Linked DNA regions of Homo sapiens: regions 2, 3, 4 and 5 are each linked to region 1. The links are contacts of gene promoters, found by promoter capture Hi-C in blood cells and fetal thymus (Javierre and others, 2016). All regions are on one chromosome and are shown on one strand. Each heading gives the region's core, a stretch centred on a gene start or on the middle of the fragment in contact. The rest is flanking DNA. Distances are from core to core; before and after follow the strand shown. Region 1 holds the start of CLCN5 (chloride voltage-gated channel 5). Region 2 overlaps SHROOM4 (shroom family member 4). Region 3 holds the start of FOXP3 (forkhead box P3). Region 4 has its middle 94 kb from the start of DGKK. Region 5 has its middle 63 kb from the start of DGKK.

What was found. Contacts are between HindIII fragments. The CHiCAGO score rates a contact against its expected background, and 5 or more counts as called.
Region 2: a fragment that was not itself captured here is called in contact with the fragment with the promoter of CLCN5 in region 1 in 3 of 17 cell types (endothelial precursors, total B cells and M2 macrophages); the score reaches 7.6 in endothelial precursors.
Region 3: a contact is called between the fragment with the promoter of FOXP3 here and the fragment with the promoter of CLCN5 in region 1, in 3 of 17 cell types (activated CD4 T cells, monocytes and fetal thymus). The highest score is 7.2, in activated CD4 T cells.
Region 4: a fragment that was not itself captured here is called in contact with the fragment with the promoter of CLCN5 in region 1 in 10 of 17 cell types (total B cells, naive B cells, total CD4 T cells and 7 more); the score reaches 12.6 in total B cells.
Region 5: a fragment that was not itself captured here is called in contact with the fragment with the promoter of CLCN5 in region 1 in 1 of 17 cell types (naive B cells); the score reaches 5.2 in naive B cells.

Annotation. Positions count from the first base shown.
Region 1 is chrX:49,921,152-49,923,988 of GRCh38, forward strand. CLCN5 (chloride voltage-gated channel 5) reads left to right here and starts at 1,445. Exons shown (of 15, transcript NM_001127898.4): 1 at 1,445-1,641; 2 at 2,256-2,331. RefSeq lists a silencer at 1,707-1,756. The HindIII fragment of the contact is 4,286 bases long and covers 1-2,208 here.
Region 2 is chrX:50,680,582-50,683,418 of GRCh38, forward strand. The region is part of intron 2 of SHROOM4 (shroom family member 4); the gene reads right to left. Among named protein-coding and RNA genes, the nearest start is that of SHROOM4, 130 kb to the right of the region's middle. The HindIII fragment of the contact is 1,192 bases long and covers 828-2,019 here.
Region 3 is chrX:49,263,147-49,265,983 of GRCh38, forward strand. It overlaps FOXP3 (forkhead box P3), which reads right to left and starts at 1,564. Exons shown (of 12, transcript NM_014009.4): 1 at 1,515-1,564. The HindIII fragment of the contact is 2,410 bases long and covers 438-2,837 here.
Region 4 is chrX:50,563,503-50,566,339 of GRCh38, forward strand. No RefSeq gene overlaps it. Among named protein-coding and RNA genes, the nearest start is that of DGKK, 94 kb to the left of the region's middle. The HindIII fragment of the contact is 721 bases long and covers 1,010-1,730 here.
Region 5 is chrX:50,532,806-50,535,642 of GRCh38, forward strand. No RefSeq gene overlaps it. Among named protein-coding and RNA genes, the nearest start is that of DGKK, 63 kb to the left of the region's middle. The HindIII fragment of the contact is 771 bases long and covers 1,099-1,869 here.

The DNA.
Region 1 (2,837 bases), core at 195-2,694:
TTGTTCTCTAAAATCGTAGATTATCAGAAACTTTTCTGCTTGAAATCGTATCAGTAAGAATGAAACATCCCACATGCATCTGGAGGACATAAGTTTCTTTGACACAGAGAAGCAGCCTCAATTTCCAACCCAGGTGCAGAGCTTCAGATAAGGGGTATCTGGACACAACATTCCACATCTATCTTTATTTTGTGGTTCCCAAGGAAACACAACTCTGGGTTCACTTTGCAGTTCAGACCTGATGGTGACCCCAAATGACAGTACTGCTTTGCTTTGAGCTTACCAAAAACACTGCTTTGTTTAAAATTCACCTAAACTCCACTCTTCTCTCCAATCCTATAATGACTCCATGTTTTTCTGTTTGATGAAATGCCTACCGTGTGCAGTCTCTCATATTGCAATGGGTCAAAGCCTGACTATGTCGGATTACAAATTTGTCCCCGGTAGCCTTATGCTGATTGGGCTAGGATAGGGGTTTTTAAATCCCTGACCACTTAGCTTGTCCAAAGTAGGCATTCCAAATTGTTCACTGCAGTAGAGTACCCTGGTTCTAGTTAGATTACTTGGATTATATGGATTCCAGTCTCAGGTCTGCCAAGAACTAATTAGCTGGATCATCTTAAGTGAGTCAGTGCACCCCATTTGGCCTAAGTTTTCTCTTCTGCAAAACGGTGTGCTGTTTCTTTCAAACCTAGGGTAAGGGCTTTGGAGTAAGTTAGACCTAGGTTGGATTCCCAGTTCTACCACGTACTAGTCCTGTGACTTCAGCTTTTCTGAGCCTCTGTTTTGTAATGATTAATATGGAGATAATACAGTACTAACAACTGCAGTATAGTTTTTGCAGCGTTGCTGGAAACATCAAGTTGGCTGTTAAAAGTATCACTACGTTTGATCACTATTCCTATTCCTACTATTATATGAGTTTAGACAAGTTACTTAACCTTTCTGTGCCTGTGTATTTTTATGAGTAAAAATGGAGAAATAACCCTCGGGGTTATTGTGAACACCAAATGAGACGAAAAAAGTAAAGGGGTTAGGAGAGTGCCTGGCACATAAGAAGCAGCTCAAATTATGTGATCTAATGTTATTAGTATTAGATTTCTACTACTAATTACTCTGTGGGCCGAAAGCTCAGGATAGACAGTTTCATTCTAAGGACAAACCTTCTCCCCAGCAAAAAAAGGCACTGCAAGCTGGAAATAGTGAAACACAATGGGGCATTGCGTTTTCAAAGGCAACTGACACGCCCAGCACTGGGATAGGACCCGCCCGCCCAGTCCTCATTAAATATGGCAGCGAGCGGGGCCGACGTACTGCGGCTGCGCAAGTTGAAACTCCTCCTGGCAGCTCCTCCCCGGCGGGCCTCCCCTCATCTCGGCTGGGTAGAGGTGCCGGGTGTGAGCTCGGCGTGGCGCGCACGCGCAGACGCTGGCTGGGCTGAGCCGATACTCGCGAGGCGCCCTGTCACATGAGCCGCGCGCCCGCTTCGCTCCCCCTCCTCCCCGGCTGGGCTGTGTGAATGAAGCTCTGCCGGCTACGTGGGGCGCTCACTCAACTTGGTGTCCTGGACGCCAGAGCCGACCGAGCGCGCTGCCCACCGGCGGCGGACACGGGCTCCGCCGCTCCGGACCTCGGCGACAGGTAAAGGCAAACGGGCTGTCCCTTCCCCAACAGGTCCTTGGCGGGCCGCTGGCCCCCGGCCCACCCCCGGAGCACCCCCTAAGCGCAGCGACACAGGGGAAGCGCAATCCCGCTGGCTTGGACCCCCGGAGATGGGGCTTCCCCGCGCCCGGCGTTGGCAGCCCGGCGCTTAGAGGAGGTAGACAGGCTAGTTCCAGCCAGTGCTGAGCGGCGTCTTCCCGGGAGCCCAGCCCTGTTCTCCGAGTTATGGTCCCTGGGTTGCCCGAGCGAAGTTTCCTTGCGGAGCGGCGCCAAGCCCGCCCCGCTTTTGAATCGGAGTGTTTAGCCGCCTGCGTCCCCTTTCCCGGACTGGGGTAGGGTGACTTAGGCTGGCAAAGCTCAGCCGAGGCCCGGCTCTTCTCCCTCCGGCTCTGGACTTGCCGCTGGTTTTGTATGGGTCTTAGCAAAGTGGAGAAACTCTCGGAAAAGTAGTTGCTGCGCTGTTTTCCTTTTGCCACTTAACGCGCGTAGCTGGTTCTCTCCAGACTTTCGAGCCTTGCTCTTGAGCGCCTTGATCCACACGGGAAAAGCTTTGCCTTTACATTGACGCACGTTTCCTTTGATTAACATTTCAGAGCAAATCAGTTGCCTGGAGTTCCCAGTGAAGTTGTACCTGTGCCCGTGCGATAACGTCAGTGGAAGCTGCCCCGAGTAAGTGAGGGAAATCTAGAAGTTTGGAGCATAAAAAACCAGCACGAATCAACTTTACATAAACTTCATACATTTATTAGCAACTGCTCGGGTTTAACTTCAGGGATGTTAAATTTCGCCTAGTCCCACGGGACGATGATCATTACTTCTTAACTGCACGCGAAATAGGAGAAGAAAAAAGGCAAATCAAAACAGACTGTCCCAGGTCTCAGAGAAGTCATCGGAGCGCTTTTTCCTGCTGAATTCACCCTAGGAGTTTGTGAGTTCCTAGTTTTCTTGGACTTCGCGAACTTTTCCTTGTCCAAAGCACTGTCTTTTCTCTGTTGGTGTTTTGGGACTGGTGTACACATTAACCCTTTTGTCATTAAAGAAGGCCAACACGATTCTCAAGCTAGTATTAGCCTTCAGTGTTTGTGCTTTAGCACTTTCACTTAGGAGGTGGAGGTGTTGGTTGTATAAAAGATATGGAAATAACAATCTACTTTGATGTTCACCAGGTCAAAAAG
Region 2 (2,837 bases), core at 174-2,673, 760 kb after region 1:
CTCTAAATACTTCAGTTTGTCTTTCCTAAGGAGAGAAATTATCTTATACAATTACAGTACTATTATCAAATTCAGGAATTTTTATATTAATACCATTTTATAATATACTTAACCCATTAATGTTCTCACCTGGTGTCAAAGCTTTATCAGAGGGTGACTCCAAAATTTAAATATTTAACCTTGACCTATTTTCTCAATTCTAGACTCTTCTACCTAATTTCTTAGTTAACATTAGCATGTAGCTGTCCAATAGACATGTCATTACATTTACAAAGTTAATGTGTATAAAACCAAGCTACTTCTTTCCTACTTCTTCCCGTTACCCATAAAACTTGTTTCTCCTCCAGTCTTTCTCGCCTCAGTAAATGGTACCACCCAGTTATTCAGGTCAAAACCCAAGGAAGCATTTAGTCCTTGCCTACCCATTCCCTACCACAGCCCTGCCCAATTCACACTTGATCCATCAGCAAGTCCTCCAAAACAAATCCTAAATCTAACAACTTTTTACCATCTCCATCACTAAAATCCAAATCCGACTCATTACCATCTCTTGCTTGAATTATTCCAAGTAGCCTCCTAACAAGTTTTCCTGCTTCCTCTCTGCCCCCTACAGTCTGTTTCCCATACAGCAGCCACGGTGATCATCTATCAATCCAAAACTAATCATACCACTGTTCTGCTTAGAACTCTCTAACAGCTTCCTTCTGCAAATAGAATACATTTGTACACATTTGAACTTCTTACCAGAGCCTACAAGGCCCTGTGTGATTATATGCCTGGCTTCCTCTCCTTTCATGCTTCCTTTGCTTACCACACTCCAGTTTTAAAGCTTTCTTTCTGACCCTTGAATACATCATGTATTTTTCCATTTAAGAGCTCTTGTACTTGATATTCTTCTGGCTGGAATGCTCTTCTCCCCAGATCTTTATATGGCTGCCTCTTTCTTATCATTTAACTCTTGGTTCAAATATCTTCATAGTGGTCTTCCCTGAATGAGCTAAAGTCTCCCCTGCCCCTGCTGCTCCTACCACACCCACATTTAGTCATTTTATATGCCTTTGCATTGCTTTATTTTCCTTTATAGCACTTACCAGTAATGGATATAACATGTTTGCGTATTTGTGATTATTGTCTACTTCTCCCATTCCTGTTAGAATATCAGCTCCATGAGGGAAAAGGCTATTTTGTTCACTGATATACCCCCAGTTCCTAAAATAGTACCCGACACAGACCATGGCTCTAGTAAATATTTGTTAGATGAATGAATGAATGGTTCCCCTCTTTGCATTTAGCTCACATATGTCCCCCAGAATCTGGTCCCTGATCGTCTTCTTTTCCTCCCTACATTACTGTTTCTGGAAGATCCCATCCATCCCAATGGCTTCAATTACTATCGACCCAAATAACTTTCAATTTAATTATTGAGTCATTTTTTTCTTTGTGTACCCAAGAACCATAGTTACAACTGTCTACTCGTCCTTTATATTTGGACGTCTTACAGATGCTTCAAATTCCACATGTCTAAAACTAGCTCATTATTTTGTTTCTTTTTGATATAAAGCATATAAAGTACCTAGTCAAATGCTCAGTGTCTAAGAGGCACTCAATAAATGCTAGTTCTTATAAATAGCATTTGTAACTAGTATCTTTTAACTCAATCCAATTTGGCAAGAAACCTTGCACTCATCTTTGACTCTATCTCTTTCCTTTGCTGAATCCACTATCTCAGCTTTCAAGTATTTGGATGCCTGACAACCCAATACCCCTAAAAGTCTCAGCCTCTAATCCTCACTGCAATAACCCTTACTGCCCTTGCCTGGCATACATTCATTCCATTCAATTAGCTATTCAATGAGTATCGAGCATGTAACCCTGCTAAGCACTATGATCACTATACTTAAGATAGGAGGAAAAACAACACATGGACACTGCCCAAAATTTACAGGGGGGAAATAGACAAGTAAACAGGCTGTTACGATTCTAGATAGAGGAAATTAAAGGGTGTTGTTTATGGGAGGAAGCTTAATACAGTCTGGGGATATCAACCCTAACACTTCTTAGAAGTGATAAAGCTTAGGTCAAGTCTTGAGTGTTGAATAAGAGTTAGCTAAACAAAGAAGAGGAAGGAGCAGTCATCATTTTGGGAAGAAGGAGCAGAATGTGAAAAGGCACAGAGATATGAGAGAATATGTTGTAGCTGGATGTGATGGTTAATACTGAGTGTCAACTTGATTGGATTGAAGGATACAAAGTATTGATCCTGGGTGTGTCTGTGTGGGTGTTGCCAAAAGAAATTAACATTTGAGTCAGTGGGCTGGGGAAGGCAGAACCACCCTTCATCTGGTGGGCACAATCTAATCAGCTGCCAGCAAATATAAAGCAGGCAGAAAAATGTGAGAAGCAGAGACTGGCCTAGCCTCCCAGCCTACATCTTTCTGCCATGCTGGATGCTTCCTGCCCTCGAACATCAGACTCCAATTTCTTCAGCTTTGGGACTCAGACTGGCTCTCCTTGCTCCTCAGCTTGCAGATGGCCTATTGTGAGACCTTGTGATCATGTAAGTTAATACTTAATAAGCTCCCCTTTATATATATGTGTGTGTGCATATATATATCCTATTAGTTCTGTCCCTCTAGAGAACTCTGACGAATACATTGGAGAAATATAAGCAGTTGAATGTGGCCATAACATAAAGTGCAGGCTTGTGTGGAGATGGCAGAGATAAACAGGCGTTCTATTTCAAGGGGCCTGTTCACCAAATTAAGGAGTTTGGATTTTAACCTGAACACAATAGGGAACTTTGAAGGGTTTTGGTGAGTAAAGATTTCATGATGAGA
Region 3 (2,837 bases), core at 314-2,813, 660 kb before region 1:
TAGGAGTAAGGACATGACCAGACAACCAAAAAAAAAAAAAAAAAAGCATGAATGGCCAATGAATAGTAAAAGTAATCACAAGATGCAAATTTCAACAATGTGATAATGTGTTTTTCTTACCTGTCATGTTGGGAAATAATTAAAACATAATAATACTCACCTAGGGTTAGCTTAAGTAGAGGGAGCATAAAATAGGACAACCTTTTGGAAGGAGAATTAGCAGAGAGGGTCATAAACTTTAAAAATGCACGCCCCCTTTGCCCCAGCAACTCCCTTTTCAGGAATCCAAGGAAGCAGTCAGGGATGTTTATAGAAAAAAACGAGAAACAACCGGAATGTCCAACAATCGGCACTTGGTCAAATCAATCAAAGTTCATGCTGATGTGAGGACAGTCTTGTCCATCATGAAAGATCATGTGTTCAAACAATTTTTAGTAAGCTTCAAAAACACTACTGTTAATTGAATAAAGCAGGAACAAAACCAATATATAGCATGATTCTAATTTGGTTACAGAAATACTAATAGCTAACACTTCGTGAGCACTTACTTTGTGCCAAACGCTGTGCTAAGCCTGCAGAATCGAGCTCACCCCAGCCCTGAACAACCTGTTTGCTTCCTGAATATGGACTCTGGTCACACACATGCAGTCCTGGGGTAGGTCCACACAGCTAAACTACGGTTGACAATGGTGTGAAGTGCTCCCTGCCCCCCCGCCCCAAGGGTCTCCTCTAAAGCGATACAAGCAAAGTTCAGTTAAGTGCTCAGCTTGCCCCGGCACCTTGCAATCCTCCTGCTACTAGGGTGAACAGAACTGATGCTCACTCTCATAAAATGTAAAGGTCCTCGGCGACATTACTATTATTAAACGCCAGCTGTGTACAAAGCTCTAGGCTGGATGCTGGCTGGGAAGGCAGGTGGGGGAAGGCAAGAAAAGAGAGCGGGAGAGATGGAGGAAAGGAGATCGATGGAGTGTGGTCAAGATGGAGGAGACAGAGATAGGGGAGATGGTCAGAGGCCAGGAGAGATGCGGGGAAAGAGAGTCTGAGTGTAGCGACAGACAGATGGCGGGAGAAAGAGAGGCAGAGAAACATGTAAAAGAGCAAGACAGGGTGAGCAGAGAGACAGAGAAGGATGAGAGGCATCAAGAGCTAAGAGACAAAGAGATGAGAGAGATGCAGTTGAAATTTTCAGTTGCACCTGGACAGCATTTCAAGTTGTTCAAAGCTCTGAAATCCATAAAGACTGGCAGCTGACATATTTTAAAAATCCTATCCATCTACGTATCAATTGATGAATTCATTTATTTTTGCCCCTGCCCATGCATTAAGTACTTCACCTTTAAGTCTTCTGCCATTTATTCTATTATTTTTTTAAAGACCTTACCTGGCTGGAATCACGGTAGCTGGGTACATCCCACTGTACCAGAGGGCCCCTGACCCCCCCGCCGTGCCTACCTCCCTGCCATCTCCTCCAATGGGGCCCACATCTGGTAGGGGAGAGCAGGGACACTCACCTTGGTGAAGTGGACTGACAGAAAAGGATCAGCCTGGCTTGTGGGAAACTGTCACGTATCAAAAACAACTTTGCTTTTATACCGAGAAGAAAAACCACGCTGTACGGTGTGGAAGCCGCAGACCTCTCTCTTCTAATAATCCAAATTTTTTTCGATGAGTGTGTGCGCTGATAATCACGGGGTGGGGAGGGGTTCTCATAGTTTTTTTTTTCTCTCTCTCTGTGTTTCTCCTTTTCTTGATTATGAGACTTAAACGGAAATTTTGAAATTTTGGGTTTTTTTCTTTGCCCTTTACGAGTCATCTGAAAATATGATTTCTTCCCCTCACCACAGAGGTGAGAGGTATCAATGAGATAATAGGGCTCATGAGAAACCACAGTTTTTAAAACAAAAGTGTATAGAGTTTGAAAAAAAAAAAACAAGGGAAAAGAACTAAAATAAATCACAGGGCCAACCCGAGGCAGGCAGAGACACCATTCTGTGAGTGAGAGGATATTTGAGGGTCTCTGGGGAAAGAAAGAGAATCTGAAGCTCTATGTGTGGATGGGAAATGCCAGGGAAAGAGACAGAATAGGGCTGGGTTCCCAGAGGCCTCGCCCTACTCCAGGCCTCAGTTTCCCTATAGATGGAATTGATATGGTCCCCATTGCTTGAACTACCCGGCGAGGGGAGTTCTGCACCCCCTGCAACACCCCTCCCACAGAGGGTGAGGGGCATGTAAGTTACTTCATGGAGGAGAAAGCGGAGAGCCCACTGTCATCCCCTAAAATTCATGGACTTGAAGAGTCGGAGAATCCCTGGCTCCCAGAATCTACTGACAGTTACTGAATGAGGAAAGAGAGAAAAGTCTCGCCTCATCACGTTTTAGGGCTTGAGTGCCCTGACCCAGCCACTGTCCCACTGGGAAGGTCCCTAGCAGGTCCCCAATATTAATGCATCCATCCTCACGATGAACCCCAGAGGCCCATTGGGACCCTGACCCTCTTGTTTCAGGAACATCATGGCCTGATGCTTCTGAGGCCCTCAGCCTTTGGGGTCTTTTACTTCAAAAAGCCCCAGTTTCCAAGGATTTAGGATTCCAAATATCCGCCATCATCTCAGTAGCTGATGTTTATCTTGAATTTTCCATGGGTCAGATACAGTGCTGAACATGTCTCACAAGTGATCATGTTCAATCCTCACCATGGCCCCTTGAGCTCCATCTCATCATTATTGTATTCCTGTTATACAGATGAGGGAAACGGAGGTATAAGTAGTCAAGCAACTTGCCCAAGATCACAGAGCTGGCGAGTGTGGGTCCCGCTTTCTTTGGTGCTGGGCTTT
Region 4 (2,837 bases), core at 120-2,619, 640 kb after region 1:
TGTGATATATATATATATATACACACAATGGAATACTATGCAGCCGTAAAAAGGAATGAATTAACAGCATTTTCAGTGACCTGGATGAGATTGAAGACTATTATTCTAAGTGATGTAACTCAGAAATGTAAAACTAAACTTGTATGTTCTTACTGATATGTGGGAGCTGAGCTATGACGACACAAAGGCATAAGAATGATACAATGGACTTTGGGGACTTGGGGGGAAGAGTGGGAAGGGGGTGAGGGATGAAAGACTACAAATATGGTGCAGTGTATATATGGGTAATGGGTGCACCAAAATCTCACAAATCCCACTGAAGAACTTACTCGGCCAGGCGTGGTGGCTCACACCTGTAATCCCAGCACTTTGGGAGGCCGAGGAGGCCAGATCACCTGAGCTCAGGAGTTCAAGAGCAGCCTGGCCAACTTGGTGAAACCCTCTCTCTACTAAAAATATTTTTAAAAAATTAGCTGGGCATGGTTGTGGGCACCTGTAATCCCAGCTACTTGGGAGGCTAAGGCAGGAGAATCACTTGAACCTGGGAGTTGGAGGTTGCAGTGAGCCAAGATCGCACCACTTGCACTCCAGCCTGGGTGACAGAGTAAGATTCCATCTCAAAAAAAAAAAAAAAAAAAAAAAAAAAAGACTTACTCATGTAACCAAATACCCTGTGTACCCCAATAACTTATGGAAAAATAAAAAAGAAAAGTTATCCATACATATATTTACTATTAAATATATCATATATGTCCAGGAGGTGGTTGGGAAACTCTAGTACCCATCAGAACTTGTTAAAACAAAGATTGCTACACTCCCTGCCCCAGGGTATGTGGTTCAGTATGTCTAGGGTGAGGTCTAAAATTTGCATTTTAACAAATTTCTAGGCTTCTGGTAGGGGACCACACTTTGAAAACCACTGATTTGAGAGATTAAAAGAAAAACTTTAAGTTTCTTTTTACTTGAAATAAGCCTGAAAAATCATCTAGTTAAATTTCTGTTTGTTACAAGCTTTAAAGAGCAGCTAGTTAGATCTTAAATAAGTATAAATATGAAGAGCATATAGTTAAATGTTAAGGCCTTGGTAGGCTAAATGGTATCTCCAATATTTCACATATAGGTAACAACAAATTGAGAGCTAGGACTCCTTGTTCACTCATACATTTTGTTGAATTGTCTCCATTGGTCTGGAGAATGTCTCCTTTTAATGTATCAACTGTTTTTGGCATGATGGCTATGTACTGTTGATGTATGTAGGTTTAAAAAAATGAGATCTGGGAGTTTAAATGCAAGTACTCAACACAGTATCCTGAGTAATTAGAACTGTGTCTATTGCAAAAAGGCTGATCAATAAATACTTAACAAAATGAAAAAAAATCCTTACAATGACTTACAAGTGCCTGCATGGTTTGTTCCCTCGTTAGCTCTACAACATCATATCCTACGACTTTTCCTCATGCTCACTCTGTTCCAGCCACACTGTTATGTCTGCCTGGAAAAATCTTCCCCAAAACATTCAAATAATTTACTCCCTTACCTCCTTCAGGTCTTAATTCAAATTATGTCCCTTTTCAGTGAGATCTTCCCTCACTACCCTATTTAAAATTAAAGTTATCCATACTCCTTATGCCTCTTCCTCATTTCATTTTTCTTATAGTACTCATCAACATCTAATACACCACATTTATTTCATTAATTTGTTTATAGTCTTTCTCTCCCTCTGCAATATAAGCTTCATGAGGGCAAGATTTTTGTCTTTTAAAAAAAGCACTGGATATCCCCAGCACCTAGCACAGGGTCTGGCATTGGTAGATGCTTAAAATTTTTTGTTAAACAAATGTTCTTAAAAAATGCTCATGGCTCAGAAAAACATTCCTTTCCCTAGCTGGCTCTCAGTTTCGCCTATTGATAGCATAAGGGAGTTGGATTGGGTGATCTTTCAGGTCTCTTGTATCTCTAGGACTAAATCTAGAGATCGGGTGAAAAGTACAATCTTGGGAGCCAGATTTCTTGGGCTTCTCCTCCTGCTGCCTTGAGACAGGTCACTTCACCTCTCTGGGCCTCCAGTTTTTGTATCTGAAAAGTAAAGATGATAAAAATAGACCCTGTCTCAAAGGGTTGCTGTGGAGATTAAATAAGATCATCCATATATAAGCACTTTAACACAGTGCATAGTGTTTAATAAACATTAACTATTGCTTTTAGGGTGATCATTAGCAAGTAGCCACATTACCAGCCTTGCTTAGGCTCATAATCAGCTTCAGTTGCTGATGGTATGAAAAAAAAAAAAAGCAAAACAACTTCCATAACAACAAATTCACCTGAGGTTCATATGCAGCTCATATGCGACTCATATGCATACAGCTGGCCTTTCCCCCTTCCTCCACCCCATTACTAAGACAGAAGAACAGCCTGTTCTCTTGTAACCTGATGTCCCTGGATAAGCGGGAGGGGGAGAGAGGCAACGTGTGATTGCCATGGCCACCCGCTGCATTTCAAGTTCCACAGAGAAGCAGGGTATGGGGGCTTATTCACAATCACCCACAAACCTGGCCATGGGTGCCTTCAACCAGAGTGTGTAGAATACATGTTGTTCCAGTGGCAGAGGCCCATCACAGATGTTCTACTAGGAGGGCAAAGGATGATGTTCAAAGCCATCAGCAGCATACGTGATTCAGACAGCTGGCCAGGTCTTTGGGGCCAGAGATGCGTGGGCTTGCCAGAGTAAGGCAGGATGTGGATAGGTTACTGGAATGGAAACTAGAAACAGTAACCAATGAAAAAACCTAATAAAATGATAAGAATATTAATAACAGCTTACATTTCTTTTGAATATA
Region 5 (2,837 bases), core at 234-2,733, 610 kb after region 1:
AAAAAATGGACAGCCTCATTCATTCATTTTTTAAGTTCAACAAACATTCATTGAGTACTTATCATGTGCCAGACACTAAGAAAACAAAAATTTCATGATCAGGTTTCCATCTTTGAGGAACTGACAGTCTCATTGGAGCATATAATGATTCTGTTATTGCAATCTATTAGTGCTATTAGAGGCATTTTATTAAAATAGAGGGCAAAGCAACAAACTGTTTGGGGGATTGGAACATGGGGAAGAGTTGGGGTGGAGAAGTTGCAGGAATGGCAGAATAAATGAACTAAGTCATGAAAGAAGAGAAGTTCAACCAATGGCCAAGGAGAAGAAATGTATAAAACAGAGGAAGAAGAGCACTTGTAAAGGCATGAGGATATGAGAAAGTAAGGCACTCAATATGGCTAGAACTTAAGAGTGTACAGGAAAAAGAGGGGGAAGATGTGGCCTAAACAAAGGCCATAATTCTATAAGAGCTATATACTACCTACTATGTAGTTCTGTATTTGAATTGAAGGGTTTTAAGTAGGATAGTGATATAGTTTAGATCCGCGTTCCCACTCCCCGCCCAAATTTCATATCAATTGTAATCCCCAATGTTGGAGGTAGGGCTTTGGGGGAGGTGATTTGATCATGGGGGTGGCTACTTATGAATGGTTTAGCACCATCTCCCTTGGTGCTGTGTTGAAATAGTGAGTGATTTCTTGTGAGATCTGGTTGTTTAACAGTATGTAGCACCTCCCCTCTCTCTCTTTTCCTCCTGCGTTAGCCATGTGAGATGCCTCGCTCCCCCTTTGCCTTCCATCATGATTGGAAGCATCCTGAAGCCCCCCCAGAAGCAGAAGCTGCTATACTTCCTGTATACTCTGTAGAACCATGAGCTAATTAAACTTCTTTTCTTTATAAATTATTCAGTCTTAGGTATTTCTTTATAGCAATGAGAGAATGGACTAATGCAGACAGTAACATGGTTACATTTACATTTTAGAAAGTTTACTCTTACAGACAATGTGGAGAATGGATTGGAGATGGCAAGAGTAGAGAGAGGAGATTTACCCAGAAAAGAGGTGATGGGAATCTGAAGTAATGTAGTGGTTTGGAAGCTTAGAATATAGGACAGAGTGGAAGAGTGACATGAAGGAGAGTACCGGAAACAGAGAGACCAGATAATATTAGGGATGAAATAGGATTGGTCAATTTTGTGACTCTAGCAAAAGTGCTATCAGGTAGTATTGAGACTGAAACCAGATTTCAGTGGGGGAAGTGAGGAAGTAGAGACAGAATAGGCAAATATTTACAGACATTTGGAATAAAGAGTAACAGGATGATGTTTATGAGGAACAACATGGGTGAAGTTGACTCTTGTTAATTTAATATTGTTCTTTAGCAGATGAGAGCTTAGGGTGTATATTTACTGAGAGGAAAAAGTCCACGGGAACAGATAAGTTGACTTTACAGGAGAAAGACGGGATAGTTGCTGGAGAGGGACCCTAAGGAGATAGAAGGCGAAGATAAAATGGAACTCAAGAGGAGAGTGGTGCAGTCGTTGCTCACTCTCAGACTACAGTAGTGATGAGGGTGATCTTGAAATCAAATAGGCCTAGATTCAAATCTCAGCGCTGCCATTTGCTATCTGGGTAAACCTGACAAGCACTTAATCACTCCAAATATCCATTTTCTCAGTTACAAATTGAGGATAACTAAACCTTTCTCACAATGTAGTTGTAAGGATTACATGAAAGAGTAAATGATAAAAATGGTAGTTATTACTACCAATGAGAACAGGATGGGGGTAAGCTAGAGATAAATTTGGCAGTAGAAGGCCAAGAATGGAAAGATATTCCAACCGAAGTCCTCTAAATTTCTCAAAAAAGCTTAGCTGATAAAAATTCAAGCAATGGGGGTGGTTAAAGGGTTGAAGGAAAGTGTTAAAAACTTGGAATCTGCTAAGAGGAAGGAGAGAGTGAGGTTTGAGAAAAAAAAGATTGCTGATCAGCATCAAGGGCCTTGACTTTATTCCTGTCCTTCAGTCTCTTCCCCTCGAATCCATCTTGCACAGTAGCACTTGATTAATATTCTCAAAAGGATACATTCATCATGTCACTCCAATACATGTCTACTAAATAAAGTTCATGCTTCTCTGTTTGGCATTTCACGCCATCTGCATTCAGATGTCTTCCTGCTATGGAAGCTTCTGCAAGCCCACAAACCAGCTAGAATATTTACAGTTCCCCATATTTGTCTTTTGTTTCCAATTCTGAACCTTGTTTGTGTTATTCCCTGTACTCTCAACTGAAGTTCATTTCAACAGTTTATACTGTGCAAGCTTCAGGGTCCTGAAGAGCTGGGTTCCAATATGAACTCTTCCACTAACCAGCCATATGATCTTAGGCAAGGGATTTTGCTTCTCTGTGCCTTAGTTTCCTTGTGTATACAATAGGGTGTCTTAGTCCATTTTGTACTGGTATAACATAATACTTGAGACTAGGGAATTTATAATGAACAGAAATTTATTTCCTCACAGTTCTGGAGGCTGGGAAGTCCAAGACCAAGGAGCTGGCATCTTATGAGAACCTTCTCGCTGCCTCATCCCATGGTGGAAGGTGGAAGAGGAAAAGAGGGCGAGAGAGAGAGAGGCAAAAGGGGGTTGTACTCATCCTTTTGTAACAAATCCACTACCACGGTAGTGGCATTAATCTATTTATGAAGGCAGTACCCTCATGGCCTAATCATCTCTGAAAGGTCCCATCCGCCAATACCATCACAATGGCAATTAAATTTCAACATGAGTTTTTGAGGGGACAAACCATATCCAAACCATAGTATAGAGATAATAATAG